Regions from separate parts of the Homo sapiens genome. Here regions 2, 3, 4, 5 and 6 are each linked to region 1. Evidence: promoter capture Hi-C in 16 types of primary human blood cells and fetal thymus (Javierre and others, 2016). All regions are on one chromosome and are shown on one strand. The core of a region is centred on a gene start or on the middle of the fragment in contact, and the rest is flanking DNA. Distances in the headings are between cores, read along the strand shown.

What was found. Contacts are between HindIII fragments. The CHiCAGO score rates a contact against its expected background, and 5 or more counts as called.
Region 2: a fragment that was not itself captured here is called in contact with the fragment with the promoter of FMOD in region 1 in 5 of 17 cell types (M1 macrophages, M2 macrophages, naive B cells and 2 more); the score reaches 9.5 in M1 macrophages.
Region 3: a contact is called between the fragment with the promoter of ZBED6 here and the fragment with the promoter of FMOD in region 1, in 15 of 17 cell types (M2 macrophages, M1 macrophages, total B cells and 12 more). The highest score is 19.7, in M2 macrophages.
Region 4: a fragment that was not itself captured here is called in contact with the fragment with the promoter of FMOD in region 1 in 4 of 17 cell types (M2 macrophages, M1 macrophages, naive B cells and 1 more); the score reaches 7.9 in M2 macrophages.
Region 5: a contact is called between a fragment that was not itself captured here and the fragment with the promoter of FMOD in region 1, in 3 of 17 cell types (M1 macrophages, M2 macrophages and M0 macrophages). The highest score is 7.3, in M1 macrophages.
Region 6: a contact is called between a fragment that was not itself captured here and the fragment with the promoter of FMOD in region 1, in 3 of 17 cell types (M1 macrophages, naive B cells and M2 macrophages). The highest score is 7.7, in M1 macrophages.

The regions. Positions count from the first base shown.
Region 1 is chr1:203,349,300-203,352,585 of GRCh38, reverse strand. It overlaps FMOD (fibromodulin), which reads left to right and starts at 1,464. Exons shown (of 3, transcript NM_002023.5): 1 at 1,464-1,553. The HindIII fragment of the contact is 3,247 bases long and covers 1-1,832 here.
Region 2 is chr1:203,683,211-203,686,518 of GRCh38, reverse strand. It overlaps ATP2B4 (ATPase plasma membrane Ca2+ transporting 4), which reads right to left. Exons shown (of 21, transcript NM_001684.5): 2 at 3,121-3,308. Among named protein-coding and RNA genes, the nearest start is that of SNORA77, 45 kb to the left of the region's middle. The HindIII fragment of the contact is 7,908 bases long and covers 1-3,308 here.
Region 3 is chr1:203,793,891-203,797,218 of GRCh38, reverse strand. It overlaps ZBED6 (zinc finger BED-type containing 6), which reads right to left and starts at 1,596. Exons shown (of 17, transcript NM_001395895.1): 1 at 1-1,596. ZC3H11A (zinc finger CCCH-type containing 11A) reads right to left here and starts at 1,596. Exons shown (of 18, transcript NM_001376342.1): 1 at 1,425-1,596. RefSeq lists an enhancer at 1,476-1,895. The HindIII fragment of the contact is 5,182 bases long and covers 492-3,328 here.
Region 4 is chr1:203,730,520-203,734,218 of GRCh38, reverse strand. All of the region lies in intron 20 of ATP2B4 (ATPase plasma membrane Ca2+ transporting 4), which reads right to left. LINC00260 (long intergenic non-protein coding RNA 260) reads right to left here and starts at 3,642. Exons shown (of 1, transcript NR_046213.1): 1 at 2,366-3,642. The HindIII fragment of the contact is 2,506 bases long and covers 424-2,929 here.
Region 5 is chr1:203,748,088-203,751,326 of GRCh38, reverse strand. No RefSeq gene overlaps it. Among named protein-coding and RNA genes, the nearest start is that of LAX1, 15 kb to the left of the region's middle. The HindIII fragment of the contact is 2,291 bases long and covers 447-2,737 here.
Region 6 is chr1:203,619,992-203,623,393 of GRCh38, reverse strand. No RefSeq gene overlaps it. Among named protein-coding and RNA genes, the nearest start is that of ATP2B4, 5.1 kb to the left of the region's middle. The HindIII fragment of the contact is 236 bases long and covers 1,889-2,124 here.

The DNA of each region.
Region 1 (3,286 bases), core at 215-2,714:
CACCAGTCCAATCTGCCATTACCTCTCCTTGAGGCTGGGTTGGAGCCTCCCTGCTTCCACCCTGGCCTCCCCTTCTCCATACAGCAGCCCCTCCTACATGCTTTTAAAATGTAAATTAGATCCCATGCAAATCAGATCCCATGGCTTCTCCTGCTTGAAACATGTTTTTTTTTTTAAACATTTAGAATAGGCCGGACCGGATGACGCACGCCTGTAATCCCAGCACTTTGGGGCACTGAGGTGGGTGGATCACCTGTGTTTAGGAGTTCAAGACCAGCCTGACCAATATGATGAAACCCTGTCTCTACTAAAAATACAAAAAATTAGCTGGGCGTGGTGGCGTGTGCCTGTAGTCCCAGCTACCCAGGAGGCTGAGGCAGGAGAACGGCTTGAACCTGGGAGGCGGAGGTTGCAGAAAGCAGAGATTGTGCCACTGCACTCCAGCCTGGGCGACACAGCGAGACTCCTTTTCGATCTCCTGACCTCATGATCCTCCTGCCTCGGCCTCCCAAAGTGCTGGGATTACAGGCATGAGCCACCACGCCCAGCTGAGACTCCTTCTCAAACAAACAAACAACAACAACAACAACAAAAACATTTAGAATAAAAACCAAATCACTTCCATCGCCCAAAAGTCCTTTCATGGTACAGCTCCTGCCCAGCTTTCTGATCTTGTCTTTCCCTGGCTGAGGAATTCTATGGCTGTGAAATGGGTAGGACACAGTGAACCTCAGCTATGTGCCAGGTCAGGAGCCTCCCACACATCACCTGATACAGTCCTTGCTACAACCCAGCAAGGTAAGTGTTATTAACTCTGAATTTGTTGTGAGCATTAAGTGGAAGTGGATGATGCTAGTGCATAAGCAGTGATCAGCAAATGCTGGAGTCCCTGCCTTTCCTTTTGTTCCAGTGGTGGAGGTGGGCAGGACCTGTAGCCTAGAAAAGTCTACACTGCTTAGGGATAGAACTGGAACCAGAGCCGGCTGTCCCTTGTCATTCATGCTCCCTTATCCACTAGCCTGATGACCTGTCTATAGGGGGAGCTGAGAAGCGCGAGTTCTCGCTCTCTGGAGGGACATGTGGGTTGCTGAAGGAGTTAAGATGTCTCTTACCAAACCCTGGCCCTCCCCATCCCTGCATCTGCCTTTGTGGCTTTAATGAGAAATCCAGGCGCTTCATAAGAGACTGTACAAATAACTTCTAGGGCGCCACTAACTCATTCAGCAGAAAGGGACCCAGGGCTGCCAATGTTTCAGGGAAGATAAGTGAGTGGAAAAAAGGTGGTTTTTATAGCGTCAGGCGGACCGAAGGATTTGCGTGGTTGAGCGTGAACTCCGCCCCTGCAGCAGAGCTGAAAAAAACCAGGATCCGGGTTCCTCAGCCCCTTTTCACAATATTTGATTAGGAATTTGGGGCGGGACCCTGGTCTGGCACAGGCACGCACACTCTCAGTAGACTCTTTCACTCCTCTCTCTCTTCCTCTCTCACACGTTCTCCAACCCAAGGAGGCCAGACAGAGGGACGTGGTCACTCTCTGAAAAGTTCAACTTGAGGTAAGTATAGTCGTTTTACTTCGGGTTTGTCCCTAGCAGTTCCTTAAAAGAAATAAAGGAAAAGTGGTAGGGGATAGGGGAGATGGGGAGGCAGGGAGGGTTCATTCCTCCTTCTCCACATCTGGGCCATGACCCCAGGGATGCTGGAGAGTGGCAGAGAGGGTGTATAAGGGAGGGGTTCCAGCCCTGTACCTTTCTCTTACAGTTCCTTTATGGGTGCTGAGGGGACCTCCAATTCTCAGGCATGAAAAAGTGAAGGACCCTCTGTCTAGGGAAGCTTCTTCCCTGCTACTCATAAATCCCATCATGCTGGGAGTGTGGGCATTTTGAAGGGTATTCCAAGACCTGGATGTCCCTGCAATCTCTCTTATAGAGGGGTTTGGTACATAAATGCTATTATGGGAGAGGGGGAAACTTTTGTGTAGAATGTGTGTGTGTGTGTGTGTGTGTGTGTGTTTGGAGTGGAAAGGAGAGAATAAAAAGAAGCATTGAGAACTGGCCATGTCCAGGGAGCTGTGGATTGGGGTGGGGATGCAATCCAGGTGAGGGGATGGCCTCTGGCTTGACCTTCTCCACTGATAGGAGGGAGAGATCTTTCTCTAGAGTGGAGAAATGAAAGAACAGCAGTAGCTCCTGAGTAAACTTCCCCCAGCTGATAGTGTGGCAGTCCTGGAAACTTTCGACCTTACAGAAACTCTGAGCACAGGAGGGCCTCTAGCATTATGGGAAACAGTGTAAGACTATGCAACCCTGAAGCAACATTGCTAAGAGATGGGATGGGGTAAGGAGAGGCATAAGCTCCCCATCAAACCCTTTCAGCACCCATGGCTCTAAGAAGAGGCTGAAGTGGGCAGGGTGCACAGCCCCTAGAAAGCTGAGTCTGAAGGGGAAGGTGGCTCTTGTCTGCCAAGGTGCCCAGTCTGAAAGAAGGAGAAACGGAGACAGAGGCTCACTGTGCCAGCCCTCCAGACAGCCACCTTGGTCCTGCAACAGCCCAGGGCTGTGCATGGAAAAATGCTCTGTTGGCAGTGGGCCGCTCCATTCGTCTTCTCTCCTGGCCAGAGCCAGGAACCAGCCAGCTTGCCCAGGCAGTGGGCAGTTGGGTCAGCTTCTCCAAAACACTGTGGCTCTTTGTCTGAGGCCTGAGGCTGCCTGTGGATGAGCCAGGGTGCCTGCTCCTCTGCAACCTAGGAACTGATGGGATGAAGTGGGCCCAAGGAAACTGTTTTGAGGGGACAGAGAGGTCTGGGATGGATGGTGGTCAGGAGGTAACTCTGTTGAGTGTCATAGTTGGGGTCTTTCCCATCAGTTCACTGGATCTGATGATGTTGGCTTTTATACTCCTTTCTTTCTTCTGTTTACAGTTGCCAACCCCAGTAGGCCCAACAGCAATGTGAGGGCTGTATGTGACTCTTCCAGGCCAAGAAAGATTCTAAGGTTTCTCTGTCCAAGGGTGACACTCAGGAAGATGCCCACTGCTCACAGGAGTATGTCATGCATTGGCTATAGGTAACCAGGGTAGGGTACCCAGGCCACCCCTAGTCTCTTACCTTCCATACCTTTAGTTTCCCTCTCAGATGACATCAGACCCACATTTCCTCTTCAGTCTGCCCTGTTCCTATCTCATTAGCACAACAGGTTCAAAAGCAACAGGTTTCCAGCAATGTGGGGACCTAGACACAGAGCCTGGTCATCTAGGTGTCATCGCTGGGAGCAGGTAGCTTGGGAAAGGA
Region 2 (3,308 bases), core at 44-2,543, 330 kb before region 1:
AGGATCCAAGAGCATTAGCTATGTCTATAACATTTGATATCCAATGTTGACAGAAAGTAGAATATATGTTGGCCTTTGGGAAAGGAAGCTCTCTGGGAATCAGAAAGTAAACAGTGGCAGCTCTGGGAAGGGATCTGGAAAATTGGAGGAAAGCCTGAATCCTGCTGTCAGGAGTTCTCTAGGTTCCAGCTTCTTTGGACTCCCGAGTTCCTGTTTGTGAGACAGACAGCTGACCAGAGGGATCAAGAACAGCATAGGAAGGGAAAAAGAAAGATCCTGTTTAAATTCTGATGGGTGTTTGTAAAGTACTGCATAATCTCAGTGAAGATATAATTAAGAACAGACCCTCAGCAGTCAGTACGGCTGTAAAAGTGACTGAATAAAGAAATCTAGCTGGCAAGAAGTAGACAGAGCCCAAAGGGGTATGATTAAGGACTACCATTAGAAGGCAAAGACTGAGCCACATGAAAGCAATTAGATATTGCCACCTTACCCAGGGTTTTTTTTTTTTTTGTGATTAAGAAGTGAGCAAATGAAATGGACAGTAGTTGCAGTTACACACACAGTAACCTCTCCAGATAGGACAAAACATTGCACTCCATAGGCACCCATGTTCTGGCAAGTATCTACAGATGCATGGACTCTGTTTTAATCTGAGAAAACTAATCTATTGAACACCTAATTATAAGTATGAGCACTGTATATGTATTATTTAATCTCAGTAACTCTATGGGCTAGGTGTTATTAACATTATTTTCAAAGAAGAAACAGACTCAGGGAGGCTGAGTAAACTGTAGAGGGCTACTTAGTTAGTAAATGGTGGAGCTATCATTTGAACTCAAAGCCTATGAGATAGGAAACCAAATTCTAGAAGTAAAGAAAACAGGTAGGGAAGCTCCCTTAGGTTGTAAAGAAAATAAGACATAAACTAGGTATAGATATCTATGTAAAACTCTCTTTCTCTTTTTTCATCCTAAAGAGTCTAGGCTCCAAGTCACTAACTTATAATACAGCACTGGCAAAGGGTAACAACTTCTTAGAATTGGTGAGAAATATGCTGTGGCCTCTGAGGAAGATTCAGAAATAGGAGACCACATGAGACTGAAAGCCCCTAATGGACAAGATCTTTGCTCCATCTCATGCTACTCAACCATGAACTGCCAGATGTATAGGGCCAAGTAAGAATCTGCTACAGAGATGCTAAAACCAGACTAAAGTGAAAAAGCAAGTTTCCTTTTGTTCTTTCTACATTTTGATGAGGCAAAATTTCATAATACCATGGCACACTGGGCAACTGGGCTGGGCCAAAGCCTGAAGCTGAATTTTTCATTATCTTTTAAGTTTTTTTAGCTTTTAAGAAGAGATTAAGGCCGGGCGCAGTGGCTCATACCTGTAATCCCAGCACTTTGGGAGGTTGAGGTGAGCGGATCACCTGAGGTCAGGAGTTTGAGACCAGTGTGGTCAAAATGGTGAAACTCCATCTCTACTAAAAATACAAAATTAGCCACATGCCTGTAACCCCAGCTACTCAGGAGGCTGAAGCAGGATAATTGCTTGAATCCAGGAGGTGGAGGTTGCAGTGAGCCAAGATTGCACCATTGCACTCCAGCCTGCCTGGGCAACAAGAGTGAGACTCCTTCTCAAAACAAAAAAACCAAAAAAACAAAAAACAAAACAAACAAAAAAGATTAAGGAGAACTACATTAAAAGTGTATCCAGCAGAGTTGAAAAAAAATCACTTATAATTCCCTGACACAAAACAGTGAGTGATCCAAAGATATGATGGGTACAGTTATATACCTTGTGATTTAGCATCCCATTTCCTTTTTTTTTTCTTTTTATTTAAAATAGAGGCTGGGCGTGGTGGCTTATGCCTGTAAGCCTCCTCATCCCAACACTTTGGGAGGCCAAGGCAGGCAGATCACCTGAGGTCAGGAGTTCGAGACCAGCCTGACCCACAGGGTGAAATCCCATCTCTACTAAAATACAAAAAATTAGCTGGGCGTGGTGGTGCACACACCTGTAGTCCCAACTGCCTAGGAGGCTGAGGCATGAGAATTGCTTGAACCTGGGAGGCGGAGGTTGCAGTTAGCTAAGATCATTCCACTGCACTCCAGCCTGGGTGACACAGCAAGACTCTGTCTCCAAAAAAAAAAAAAAAAAAATAGAGATGGGGTGTTATTATGTCACCCAGGCTGGTCTGGAACTCCTGGGCTCAAGTGATCCTCTCACCTCAGCCTGCCAAAATGCTGGGATTAGAGATGTGAGCCACCCACCTGCTTGGCCTATCATCCCATTTCTAACAGTATACAATAGAGAAGTGCTCAATTGGGCAGCTGGACTTATTCACTTTTTTGTACCCTTCCTTCCTCCATTCATTAAACTGTAAGATCAGTGTAGGGAAGAATTAAATTATTTTATAATCAGACATATAGAAGAACAGACTTGATTATTTACTGACAACAACATTTATAACATAAACATTTTAAAAATAAATATCCTCCTTTCTGGACACTGATACAGAAAAAGGAGAAAAGAGGGGTCAGGAGCAGTGGCTCACTGTGCCTGTAATCCCAACACTTTGGGAGGCCAAGGTGGAAGAATCACTTAAGTCCAGGAGTTTGAGATGAGTCTAGGCAAGATACTGAGACCTCAACTCTACAAAAAAATCTAAAAAGCTAGCTGGGTGTGATGGCACACACCTGTGGTCCTAGCTACCCAGCAGACTGAGGTAGGAAGATGGCTTCAGCCCAGGAGGTTGAGGCTGCAGTGAGCCATGATCACGCCACTGCACTCCAGCCTGGGTAAAAGAGCAGGACCCTGTCTCACCAAAAAAAAAAAAAAAAAAAAAAGAAACAAAAGAAGAAGAAAGAAAGAAAAGAAAAAGGAGAAAAGAATAATCTTTAGAGAATAGCACACTTTCTAAACATCATCTCTGGGAAAGATACAGTTCTTCATGGCCTGCCCTCCTTTCAGTGCTTCAGATGCCATACCTTTCCCACCAGACAAAAATATACCAGCTGGGCCTCCAGAAATGTGCCTTCTCTAGAAGCTGGGAAAACAATATTTTGAAACACTAGCCACCTTCCTCCAACTCCCCACCCCTGATATGGCCTTTACCTTCCACAGGGGAGGTTTTCAGTCTACTGCAGAGATTCTGTACACCTCCATAGTGGACATTAATCTGGGTCAGTGCATCCCTTGAACGCAGCTCCATGAGCTTCCTCAGTTCCATTACTGTGCAGCCAAAGTCCCCTTCACGGCTCTCGGCCATCGAGTTGGCAGGCAAGACACGGTCTGATGGGTTC
Region 3 (3,328 bases), core at 347-2,846, 440 kb before region 1:
CACAGAGTTGGTTAGTAGCAGCTAGAAGCCAGGTCTTCCAAATCCCAGATCCATGTTCTTCCTGCTTCATCAAGAACTATATCTACTTGAAATGCCTTCACCTTGTAAAATACATATTTTTATGATGCCTCATGATAGCGACATCAATTTCCCTTAATTCTGAAATTAACTATTTTCAGGAAATCTCATTTAAACAAAAACATAGTGCATCATTCAACATTCATCATTTAGGACTGTGATTTGCCAATACAACCCAAAAAGTCAATTCTGGAAAGCCAACACAGACTCCGCATACTGGTCACAGCAAATGCTAGTTGAGCCCTTTCAGTTCTAACTAAAAGTAATACAACCTTTTAAAATGTGAGTGGCTGGAAAAAAATGCTTTGAGAAAAAAATTTTAAAACAAGGTTAAATGCTGCATTTTCAAAGTACTGTTTGTATTAAGAGTTAATTCAAGTTTAGTTTTCAGATATTTTTAGACTTGAGAAGCTTTTACAGCCTGTAAGTAACTCACAAGTTGTACGCTATAGAGATAGCAAAAAGTGAAATATGAACTTTAAACCACTTCCATTTTTCGATTGATCCCTCCCCTTCCCCCAATACCTACATACATTTACCCTAAAAAGCATCGCTATCTCTAGTTCCACAGCCTCTTTCTCAAGGTCCAGAACCAAGGCCTGGAAGATGTCAACAATATAGGCCTTCCCCATAGGAATCCGCACCGATTATGGGAGTTTAGGGGTGTTCTTCATTACGGTTTCACCAGTCCTACAAGGAGAACGGAAGTGTCCCTGTTGCTCTTGACTCCGACGCTGAGGGCCAGGGGTGGGAGTGTAATGAGAGTGGGGAATGGGTGTAGGATACCGGAATAAGGTCGGTGGCTTTCTGTATGTGGAGTTTGAGACAAGCTCCAAAGTACCGGGACCCTGGAGAGGAATGAGAGTAGGTAAATTCAGCGCCCGGCACTCAGTCTGATTGATTTAGGCAGTGAGGGTCCGCTCAACTAGAGAAACTGTTGCCCCGAAGAAAGCAATCTAGTGTCAGTTCTCTCTTCGGGATTCGGGGGAACAGTCGGTTTTCGGGGCTGCTCCGGGCTCCTCGAGATTAGCGAACACCGGATGTGGGGGAGGGGAGGAAGGTTGGCTGGGAAAGGAGCAGGCGCCGTGGGGGTGGGGTGAACGGGGTGGGGGTGGGGAGGATGGGAAAAGTGAGCGGGAGCCTGGGGCTCCCAGCCAGCCCCGGCGAGGGCCGCGACCGGGAGGTGGGGGGGAGGGGTCGTTACGGCGAAGCTGAAGGATCCGCTCTGACTTCCCGGGATAGGCCGCGACCCAGGGGCGAGGGGAGGCCGCTGCCACTCCCCTCGCCCTCTCCCCCACCTCCCCGGCCCCAAGCCACCCGGGAATCAAAAAAACGGGTCTAGTTACCAGAGAACAGAAACTTTACCGAACCGATGACACTATCCCCGACTCCCGCTTGCTGCCACGTCTTTCTTCTTGCTTGGCCGCTGCCGTCCGTCGTCCTCCCAGCAGCAGCAGCACTAGCAGAAAACCAAGACTGCCAGCGTCAAAGATGGCGCCTGGCTACAGGCTCCGCTCTAAGGCCCGGCCGGTAAAAGTGCCAGCACGACGCAGGGCGCGAGGATTCTGGAAGATGTAGTTCCTCTATGAGGCGATGCCTAAGATGGCTGCTCCGGGTCACAGGGTCACGTGACGGGGGAGGCGCTGGGTCGGGGAGTCCCTTCCCTTCAGAGGAATGCCTCGAAGCCGGCTTTCATAACGTTTTGTTTTTGTTTTTAAATCAAATGAGGTAATAAGCGGGAGGGCCGCAGGAACTGAGACTGCCATTCAGTAAGCGCTCAATTTATTCTTACCAAAGTGTTTGCTTAATGAGTAAATCTCCCAAACCATGTATACATTTAATTTAGAAATAAACTGTACTTTTCCTAAGCATGCAATGTAGAATGATTTGTTAGTTTATTTTTTACTTGAAGAAGTGAGATTGGGCTTTGGGGGGGTGTTTCTTTGATTTCTTAAAGCAAATTTGTGTATTGGAAAAGTAATTCATGCTCGTGACAAAATTCAGGAGAGTTAGTTGGAGGTCGCAATCAGCAGTCTCATCCCTGCTTCATTATTAACATTGTCCCTTATTTTCCCTTTTGAATGTTTTTACTTTTTCCCCCGGTTATAAAAGTAATACACGTGGCCGGTGCGGTGGCTCACGACTGTAATTCCAGCACTTTGGGAGGCCTCGGCAGGCGGATCACAAGGTCAAGAGATCGAGACCATCCTGGTCAACATGGTGAAACCTCATCTTTACCAAAAATACAAAAATTAGCTAGGCGTGGTGGCACGCGCCTGTAGTCCCAACTACTCGAGAGGCTGAGGCAGGAGAATCGCTTGAATCTGGGAGGCAGAGGTTGCATTGAGCTGACATCGCACCACTGCACTCCAACCTGGCGACAGAGTAAGACTCCATCTCAAAAAAAAAAAAAAAAAAAAAAAGTAAAAAACTTAATACACGTAAGTTTTTTTAGAAACAATACAGAAATATAGAGAGTAGAAAGTTAAAATCTCTATTAATCTCATTCTTGAGAAATAGCTCTCATTAACTTACCATATATCCTTTCTGGCTTTTACACTGAAAATATACTTAAATATATTACACATATAATAGGAGCCCAAGGTCCCCCTGGGGTAGTGGCTCAGCAGAACTCTAATTAGGTGGCAACATTTTACCTAACTTGGGTAAAGGATATAGTTGTGCTACTAAGAAAGGAAACACTTGATGATAAAGCAGATGGGACTTCAGGCACCTTTTATTTCCTCGTGTGCTTGTTCTTCCAGCTGCCGGGTTGGTGATGTGCGAGTCCCAGGCAGCCCAAGACTAGGAATTTATCAGAGCAGAGGGGTCCTGAGCCTCCTCATATCTGGGCTTTTATCTCCTTTCAAAGTAAGAACCACAACTTTAGAATCTTAGCTCCAATCTCTGCCTTACGTGACAGTGCTCTGGCATTGCCATGTCAACAGACCTAATAAGCAAGTTCCTGGTAGCCAATTTCTTTTTTTCTTTCTTTTTCTTTTTCTTTTGTTTTGGTCTTCATTTTTTTGGTCTGTGTGACTCTTACTGGTAACCAATTTCTGTCTGTGCCACGACACCTAGGGTTTTTAAAATTTACCAGAGGGCTCTCCACATAGCTTAAGGGTTTTCCAACCTAGGACTCTCCAAGATGCAGTCCTGGCCTGACTAGTGTGCTATATAGAGTTTATAGTTATATTTCAGTAAACCTAAAGTATCATTGATTGTAAGATACACTTTTATTTTACAAGCC
Region 4 (3,699 bases), core at 427-2,926, 380 kb before region 1:
TGATTCTCCTGTCTTAGCCTCCCGAGTAGCTATAGGACTACAGGTGCCCGCCACCACGCCCAGCTAATTTTTTGTATTTTTAGTAGAGACGGGGTTTCACCATGTTAGCCAGGATGGTCTTGATCTCCTGACCTCGTGATCTGCTTTGGCCTCCCAAAGTGTTGGGATTACAGGCGTGAGCCATCGTGCCCAGCCAGCTACAACTTTTATGCTAAAATTGCCAGTCAGCAATACAGTGGTGGCCAAATGGACTATTATTATTGACCAAGTTTAATACTGGCTCAATTATGACAGGTCCACTAGTCAAAACACACCCATGGGCACATTAGCTCCCTTCCTACCTTTCCTCAAAAGATCCCAAACTTTGCCCCCATGTAAAGAAAGCTCTTGGGTTTTCCTCTGGCCTAACCTCACATCTAAGCTTAGGAGGTAGAGTTCAGACTCAAAGGAGCAGGAGGAGAAGAGAGGAACAACAACATATCCCAGCAAAGCAACAAACAGACAAACAAAAAAGGCAAAGCAAAACAAAACAAAACTCAAGAAAAGGAAGAAATGAGCAATGCAGAGGAACAATCAGAAAACAGAATTATTGTCTTTAAAACAGTTAAGGTTTAATAGCTTTTCTACATTACAAAAATAAAATACAAGGGCACACAGTCTGGTTTTAGAGTAGGATTTTTGTCTTTTTCTTCCCTTAAGTCAAAATATCAAAGGGAAAAACCAAAAGGAAAAGATAACCATGGTTGGTTAAAGTGGATGCCACGTGCTCTCTTGTGGTCATTTTAGCAAATCATGCATCATAATAGACTATCACTCACTGCCCATAGGAGGAGATGAAACAGCAGGAACAGAAGTGGTGGGGGAAGATTTGACTGGTGCAACTGCTACATAGGATGAACTAGGAACAAGTTTTACATCAAGGTGTTGACCCATGTTCTGTCGCCTTAGGACTCCCTTAAAAGAGGCTCCCGTCTGGAATGTGTTAATTACGTCGATCTGCAAAGAATCAGAGAGTGAGACAGCTTTGCTCCACAGTCAGTCCGAGAGAGGTGAAGAAAGAGGAAGGGAGGGTCATGGAAGGTTGGGGAAGCAGGAATGGAAGTAGATGGGAAAAGGGGACAGGAGAGAGCAAGAGAGAGCTTCCCTCCCACAAAAAGCAATGGTGAGGAGAAGGAGAAAAACGTTAATTGCATATCATACTTCACTTAGGGAACAATTTGCCATGGAGTCCCAACGCCCAGCCAGAATCTAGTTTTTTCTTCCCTTTGAATCCACAGTGGGCATTTGAGGTTTAGAGGGGGCCAAGAGTATTTAAAATGTAAAGGGACTTTTCCCTACTCCATCACTCCTAACAGCTAGACAGCGATTGTTCGTTGTTTTTACCTGTACTTTTTTTTTTTTTTTGAGATGGAATCTCAATCTGTCGCCCAGGCTGGAGTGCAGTGGCACACTCTCGGTTCACTGCAACCTCCACCTACAGGCCCCTTTTTACCTGTACTCTTAAAAATAAGGCAAACAATTGAAGATTCTGAAGGCAAATTATGTATTACTGAATTTGAAGGCTCAGGAACCTCTAAATCAATTAAACCGACTACGTATTTTTGCGGATTTTCCAGGAAAATAACTCATGTGTTTAAATAAAAAACAGGGGCCATTTAGTAGCCAATATACAAATGGCCATGATGGAAAGACCCCTGGGCCATGAGTTGCTGGGCTCATCCTCCTCTGGGTATCTTGTCTGAGCTATCCCTTCCCTGGGCTGAAGTAGGTAGGCTCCCTGAGAATGGAGCTCAAGAACCCAGTGGCCAAGCCCACTATCGAGAATGCTACTAAGTGCATTAATGCATTAGAGATCTGAAATGTCTGGCAGAAATGCTGACAGTAACTCGGCAATTAGACTGAGGGAGGGGGAGGAAGAGGTTTTGGTTGGTGGTGGTTGAAACAGCTACAGGTCGAGGCTTACACAAGTAGCCTCTGGTTTTCAGTGCCCTGTTCCTCAGAGACAGAGGCAATTAATGCCATTCATTTTCTTCCTTCCTTCCTTTTTTTTTTTTTTTTTTTGACACCCAGGCTGGAGTGCAAGGTGCGATCTCGGCTCACTGCAAGCTCCGCCTCCCGGGTTCACGCCATTCTCCTGCCTCAGCCTCCTGAGTAGCTGGGACTACAGGCACCCGCCACCAGGCTGGCTAATTTTTTATATTTTAAGTAGTGACAGGGTTTCACTGTGTTAGCCAGGATGGTCTCAATCTCCTGACCTCGTGATCCGCCGGTCTTGGCCTCCCAAAGTGCTGGGATTACAGGCGTGAGCCACTGTGCCCAGCTTCCTTCCTTCCTTCCTCCCTCCTTCCTTTTTTTTTTTTTTTTTTTTTGAGACAGAGTCTCGCTCTGTCACCCAGGCTGGAGTGCAATGGCACGATCTTGGCTCACTGCAACCTCCATCTGCTGGGTTCAAGCCATTCTCCTGCCTCAGCCTCCTGAGTAGCAGGGACTACACGTACCTGCCACCATGCCCAGCTAATTTTTTTATTTTTAGTAGAGACAGAGTTTCACCATGCTGGCCAGGCTGGTCTCGAACTCCTGACCTTGTGATTTGCCTTCCTCAGCCTCCCAAAGTGCTGGGATTAAGGTGTGAGCCACCGCGCCCGGCCATGCCATTCATTTTCTGACAATGGTCCTGATCTAGGGCCTCAATCAACTCTACCATCCTTATCCCTGACCCCTAAGTAACAAGGACAAAATCAAAAGGAATTCCCTTTAGCCTTCATGAATCTGGTAGAATAATCTTAGAAATATCTATCTGCTTAATGCCAAGGGTTAATCTACCAGGAATGAAGGAAAGGTGCTGATTCCATTAACTGGACTTCATTTTCCCAGGAGGGAAGATGGGAAAGTAGGCAGAATGTGAGTGAGACAGTCCTTTTATAAAGCTTCCTGAGAAGCCATGAGCTGTTTAGGGCTAGTTTCTGGATCCAGATCACAGTTTGAGCAGAAACATCACTGCTTCCTCACATTATTCAGTTTTAGTTCCCTGGGACTGAGGAGCTTGAACCTGCAGGAGGAGAGGGTTTACACTTGGGGTGGGTGCGGGGGTTCCAGCTCCATGGAAGAAGGGACTGTAGAGACACCTTCTTCAGTGCTTATTGGAGTTACAAGGTCCCAACCTCCACAATTCTAGTCTCTAAGTTTTCTAACACCTCCCATACCAAAGCACTGCGATGAGAATGACAACAAAGATCAACGTGGAGGTGGCAGGGGGTTTTGTTAGAACCCAGCTGAGGCTGAAGGGCTGATGTTGGGAGCGGACCTCAGGGATCCAGGATACACGTTAGCATCATTAGCCTCATCAGCTTCCAGAGTCAGGTGCATCCTGGATGGCGTGAATTTGGTCACTGTGGCATCTTGAACATGCCTCACTTTAGGCTTTAATGCCATTTTGGCCCAACTGCCTCATGCTCCAACAATGCGGAAAGGTAGTATACCTAAAGCTATGTAGGCAGTGAAACCAAAAAGACCTTGTAGAGAGGGGCATAGTCAAGGAAATAGAAATTGGTAGTGGAGGGCAAGGAAGACCCATAAATCTCAGCCTCCCAGGACAGAAGACTGGAAAGGAGCAAGGAGGTACTGGACTGAGGGAATCTTGGCTAGGAGAAAAGAAATCACATAGTAGAAGTGGTTGATCCTGAAGAAAAACAAAGCAAA
Region 5 (3,239 bases), core at 343-2,842, 400 kb before region 1:
AGCCTGATGTGAAGCCTGCCGGCACATGTTCTGGTATGCAGTACACGTTCTATACACACACAATAATGCTACATTCCAGGGAGATAAAGCAATGAAAGAGAAATTTTATGTAGACATTCTTCAGTGGTTATTAATAGCAATTAGATGTGAGAGCAAGAATGGAAAGAGTGTCAGAGTTGGAAAGACCCTTAGGTTCCAGAGCAAGCTAGGTTCAGGGTCAGCATTACAACAGAGGCCTTCTAATTCCCAGACCAAGTTCTTTCCACGACACCTTGGATGAGACACCTCGCTTCTCCTCTCTGATTTTATGCCATTCCACTGGGTTAGATCTCTGCATTCCCAAACAACTGCTCTTTCCATCATAAATTTCAACGCAGAAGGTTATCATTCCACTGCAGAATCAGCTAGATAATAGTCTCAGCAGGCTAGACTACAGTCATTAAGCTTTGCTGAATTTTACCTGTGCATGCATTGATAATGGTAGTGGCAGATAATTGAGACAGGATCCAAGTTAGGCTTGCTTGTTTGCTTGAACACAATTTGTTATATTACCACTCAACTTTGGACTGTTTGTTTTGTTAATTACAATCATAGCATTTCAGAGTTGGCAGGGACTTTAAGGATGAACTAGGTTAGTGTTTTTTGTTTTTGTTTTTCTGAAATGGGATCTTGTTCTGTCACTCCAGCTGGAGTGGCCTCATCACAACTCACTGCTGCCTCAACCTCCTGGGTTCAAGTGATCCTTCCACCTCAGCCTTCTGAGTAGCTGGAACTATAGGTGTGCACCACCATGCTTGGCTAATTTTTAAAAATTAATTTTTTTTTTTGAGATGGAGTCTTGCTTTGTCACCCAGGCTGGAGTTCAGTGGCACAATCTTGGCTCACTACAACCCCTTTCGGGTTCAAGCAATTCTCTTGCTCAGCCTCCTGAGTAGCTGGGATTACAGGCGTCCACCACCATGCCCAGCTAATTTTTGTATTTTTAGTAGAGACGTGGTTTCGCTATGTTGGCCAGGCTGGTCTTGAACTCCTGACCTCAGGTGATCTGCCCACTTCGGCCTCCCAAAGTGCTGGGATTACAGGCGTGAGCCACCATGCCTGGCCAAAATTTTTAATAGAGATGAGGTTTCACTATGTTGCCTAGGCTGGTCTTGAACTTCTGGCCTAAATCCATCTTCCTGCTTTGACCTCTCAAAGTGCTGGGATTACAGGCCTGAGCCATTGCACCCAGCTGGTCAGTGTTTTAAAGTCATTTTTTAAAAGCTATAGCTGACCTGGAAGCCAATAACATTTTTTCTTTTTCTTTTTCTTTTTTTTTTGAGATGGAGTCTCACTCTGTCTCCCAGTCTGGGGTGCAGTGATGCAATCTCAGCTCACTGCAATCTCTGCCTCCTGGGTTCAAGCAATCCTCCAGCCTCAGCCTCCCAAGTACCTGAGACTATAGGCATGTGCCACCACGCCTGGCTAATTTTTTTTTTTAGTAGAAACAGGGTTTCACCATGTTGGCCAGGCTGGTCTCGAACTCCTGACCTCAAGTGATGTACCCGCCTCGGCCTCCCAAAGAACTAGGATTACAGGTGTGAGCCACCGTGCCTGGCCCAAAAACGTTTTAAAAATGTGCTATTTTTGTTGAACGCCTGTCGACCCTAAATTATCTCTCAGGAGTTCCTTTCTGATCTTCAAAATGTAATTTGAAAATGATGTACTTTAATGATCTCCTTGTACACATGGGAAATCAAGCTGGTCAAGAAGCAGAGTTGAGGTCAGGGCATGTGTCTCCTGCCTTCCAATCAGCTGCACATCAGAATCTTACTCTAATTTTGCCATTTTAGCTCCTCGATCAAAGAGTAAGCAGAGAAACATTTAAACGCCTTCCTTTCCTACCCGGTCAGCAGCAGCAGCTCAATTCAAAAGGTTTGATAGGAAAGATGTAGGAATTCTCTCTTTTTTTTTTTTTTTCGGAAAGAGAGTCTTGCTGTGTTGCCCAGGCTGGAGTGCAGTGGCATGATCTCGGCTCACTGCAACCTCCACCTCTCACGTTCAAGTGATTCTGCTGCCTCAGCCTCCTGAGTAGTTGGGATTACAGGTGCCTGTCACCACGACTGGCTAAGTTTTTGTATTTTTAGTAGATACAGGGTATTGCCATGTTGCCCAGGCTGGTTTTGAACTCCTGAGCTCAGGCAATCTGCCTGCCTTGGCCTCCCAAAGTGCTGGGATTACAGGCATGAGCCACTGCGCCCAGCAGGAATTTTTTATTTTTATTTTTATTATTTATTTATTTATTTATTTATTGAGACAGGATCTATCTTTGTAACCCAGGCTGGAGTGCAGTTGTGCAATCTCAGCTCACTGCAACCTCCGCCTCCTGGGTTCAAGTGATCCTCTCACCTCAGCCTTCAGAGAAGCTGGGATTACAGGCATGAGCCACCATGCCCAGCTAATTTTTGTAAGTTTAGTAGAGATGAGGTTTCACCATGTTGGCCAGGCTGGTCAGATGCAGGAATTCTTGACTTAAATAAAGGGTTTTGGATGATCATGGATATATTTGTTCTTCTCTTAAGCATGGTTAAAGGCAATCTGTAGGTACCAGTCCAGCTCTTCCCAGCCTTACTCCCTCTTTCAAATGAGTTATCATATATACTTGCTTTAAATAGGTGAAGACATGAAGATCTGGAGTTATAAAACACAAATCAGTCTTTCAATGCAGTCTTCCTGGGTCTAGCATAGCAAGAAAGCTTAAATCAATTGTGCTGTGTTTGGAAAAAGAATGTGCTAAAAGGAGATGGTCTATATGTCCTCTGTTATAGGAGACACCAGAGAAATCAAGTGATGCTTAAGCTTGAACACAGGGCCCAGTTCTATTCTAAAGTAGAGACAGGCCAGGCATGGTGGCTCATGCCTGTAATCCCAACATTTGGGAGGCTGAGGTGGGAGGATAGTTTGGGGCCAGGTGATTGACTCCAGCTTGAACAACATAGTAAGACTCCATCTCTTAAAAAAAATTACAGGCATGGTGGTGCATGCCTGTAGTCTCAGCTACTTGGAAGGCTAAGATGGAAGGATAACTTGAGCCGAGTCTAAGGCTGCAGTAAGCCTTGGTCATGCCACTGCTCTCCAGCCTGGGTGACAGAGCAAGACCCTGTCTCAAAAACAAAAAAAGGAGTAGGGACAGATATATGCCCTGTGAGTGTAATGGCACTAGCCACTCAGACAGTTCTATTATTTCCCCTTTGCGTAGA
Region 6 (3,402 bases), core at 757-3,256, 270 kb before region 1:
CTCCCCTTGACCGGCTGTGGGGTTGTGGGATGAGAAAAAAGGAATCCCCCTCCCACTCCATTCCCACCCCAGCTCTGCTGCAGACAGGAGGGAGGGATGTCGGGGGGTGGGTCAATGTGACCCCAGAGGAGCCGAGGGGACCATAGCCTGATCTCTGTCACTGAGCTGACCACTGAGGCCTGTGTTTTCTGGAAAGCTAGAAGCCTCAGTGCTTCGCTTCTTGCAGCGGCAGGTTTGAGGTCTAGAACGGGTAAAAATAAATCTATCCATAAAAATAACCACTAGATGTGGGAAAATGGAGTTGGCCCCCCTGGGGCAAGAAGGAGGACACTGCCTCTGGCATCAGAAGTTCATAGTCTGCCTGTTCTGCTCAGCTCTGAGCAGTCCTGTTTCCCTCTTCTCCCTGCTGTACTCTTGACTTTACAGGTTCCTGTTCTTTAGATCTAGCCTGGCTCTCCTCAGCCTCCTGAACTCCCCATAGCAGGTCAGTCTCTACAGGGCTTACATCACTGTGGACCCTGTCCCTACCCCATCTCTCACTTGAGGAAAATGCAGTCAGCACTGTCTCTCACTTAGGTGTTTAACAGAATGTGTTCCTCTGCCTCTTGATGACTCCACCTTGAGTTTTCCAAATCTTCCTCACCATTTCCTGTACCTCCCCCGAATGCAGACTGCATGACTCCCTGTTGTGAATATCTACCATTTTGCCTTGGCTAGAACAGCAGCCATTTTCCCCATGCCCGAACCCAGTTCTTTGGGACGTCCTTTCTTCTCACTGTTAAGATGGAAACTGGGCCAGGCATGGTGGCTCATGCCTGTAATCCCAGCACTTTGAGAGGCCGAGGTGGTTGGATCACTTGAGGTCAGGAGTTCAAGACCAGCCTGGGCAACATGGTGAAACCCCGTCTCTACCAAAAATACAAAACTTAGCTGGCACGGTGGTGCGCGCCTGTAGTCCCAGCTACTCGGGAGACTGAGGCAGGAGAATCGCTTGAAACCAGGTGATGGAGGTTGCAGTGAGCTGAGATTGCACCACTGTACTCCAGCCTGGGTGACAGAGTGAGACTCTGTATCAGTAAATAAATACATAAATAAAAATACAAAAAAAAATCACTGGGCATGCCTGTAATTCCAGGTACTCAGGAGGCTGAGGCCCGAGAATCACTTGAACCCCAGAGGCTGAGGTTGCAGTGAGCTGAGATCGTGCCACTGTACTCCAGCTTGGGTGACAGAGTGAGACTCCATCTCAAAACAAAACAAAACAAAACAAAAAACAACAATTGAAACTGACATTTTATTAGCAGTCCTAACCCCACCTGACCCAAGCTGAGCCAATTACATCCTTTCCTGAGAGTTTTGCACTTACGATTAAACAGAAAACAAGGCTTGGTCCCTGCTGTGACTACTGTGAAGAGATACTCTGGAAGTATCAGAGGTCAAGTATCTTATACTCTGGAAGTATCAGGGGTCAAGTTCCCTGCCCCATGGAAGAAGCCTGCAATAAAAAAGAATACAGCTCGCATGCAAGAGAGGCAGACGAGAAAGCTAAGGAGTGAGTGCCAGCAGCACTGGAGTTCGTTGTACCTCATATCCCACTGTACCCCTGCCTTTCCTACAAATGAGTTACATGACTCATTGTGCATGCCTACGCTAGATGAAACTAGGTTTTTTGGTCACTTGTACTAAGTAATGTAGAAATGTAGTGTAGAAAGTAATATAGAAAGTCTTTGAGCTACTAGCTACCATTTAGATTCAGTCATTTCTGTGCATTTTATTCATTCAGTTAAGTATCTCTGAACACCTACTATTCAATTTAGCATACATTTATTGAATGTCTACTGTTTCAACATCTACTGGGCCCAGATGAGGTATACAGAGGTAATAAGCTTATAGTTTAGTAGAAGGAAAAGATGCTTTCATAGCATGAGTAGCTACAATCAAAGATGCTATAATCTTTTAAATGTATTTACTGAATGCTTACTATGTGCTAGGTAGTACATATTAAAAGATGAAATATAAAATGCTAGGAAATGCTAGGGAGTGATTGCCTCAGATGGGAATATTAGAAGGCTCTAGGAAGGAGATAATATTTGCAAGTACCTGAAAAATCTTGAAAAGCAAGCTTTAAACTGTTTTGGATGGAGGCGGGGTTAGGGTGGGACATGAGCAAAGGTCTGGAGGTAGAAAGAATAGAGAACGAGGTGGGTGGGTTGCCTGAGGCCAGGAGTTCAAGCCTGGCCTGGGCAACATGGCAAAACCCCATCTCTAGTAAAAAAATTAGCTGGGTGTAGTGGTACACACCTGTAATCCCAGCTACTTGGGAGGCTGAGGCACAAGAATAGTTTGAACCCAGGAGGCAGAGTTTGCGGTGAGCCGAGATTGCACCACTGCACTCCAGTCTGGGTGACAGAGTGATAGTCTGTCTCAAAAAAAAAAAAAAAAGAAAAAAAAAAAGAAAAAGAAAAAAGAAAAAAGAGTAGAGGAGAAAGACTGGGGAGGTAGTTTGAGTTCAGTCAATGGAGGGCCCTGAGTGGCCTCACTGGGTCTGTGTTTAGTAAGCTGGCTGTGGCAGTAGTGTGTAGGGTAGACTGCAAGCCTAAAGATGGTGGGAGGGATAATCCAGGCACAATGCATTACTAGGCAGTGTTATGGAACATAGTGATATGTAACATAGTCCCTGCCTTCCAGAAGCCTCTAATCTGGTTGTGGAGATATATAAAGCAGATAACAACAGAATAAAGTATATGCTGAAGTCTAAAACTTTGTTCCAGGTGAAAAACCCAGTGAAAGTTTAGCGAAGGAAAGCTGAAGATGGGCTGGAAGCTTTGCAGAAGGCTTCTTAGAGTTGGTGAGACTCCAGTTGGACTTTTCGATTATTTCTAATGCTTTTCTTTCTACCTCCTTGCAGAGCAGGCCTGGTGATGGCTGCAGGGTAGACAGATGTATTTATCTGAGTAACTTCTGCCCCCATGTCCTTTGTCTATCCTTATTATACAAAACCCAGGGCAAGGGTTCTAATGGGGAAGAAACTGGATCCAGGAAGACCCACTGAGCTCCAGCTAAGGGACTGGGGGCATGAACGCTAGGCAGAGATACCAAGGCAGAAGTCCTTGGACTTGGCTTAGGTCAAGATGGCAGGAGATCAGAGAAGGCTGCTAGATGGAGACACAGATAGCCAGGGTTTACCCTCCAAGACATTCTCATGTACAATCAAAACAACTAATTCTCTGGCTGGGCGTGGTGGCTCACGCCTGTAATCCCAGCACTTTGGAAGATGAAAGTGGGCAGATCACTTGAGGTCAGGAGTTCGAGATCAGCCTGGCCAGCACAGCAAAACCCCGTCTCTACTAAAAATACAAAAAAATTATCTGGGCATGGTTGCATACGCCTGTAATCACAGCT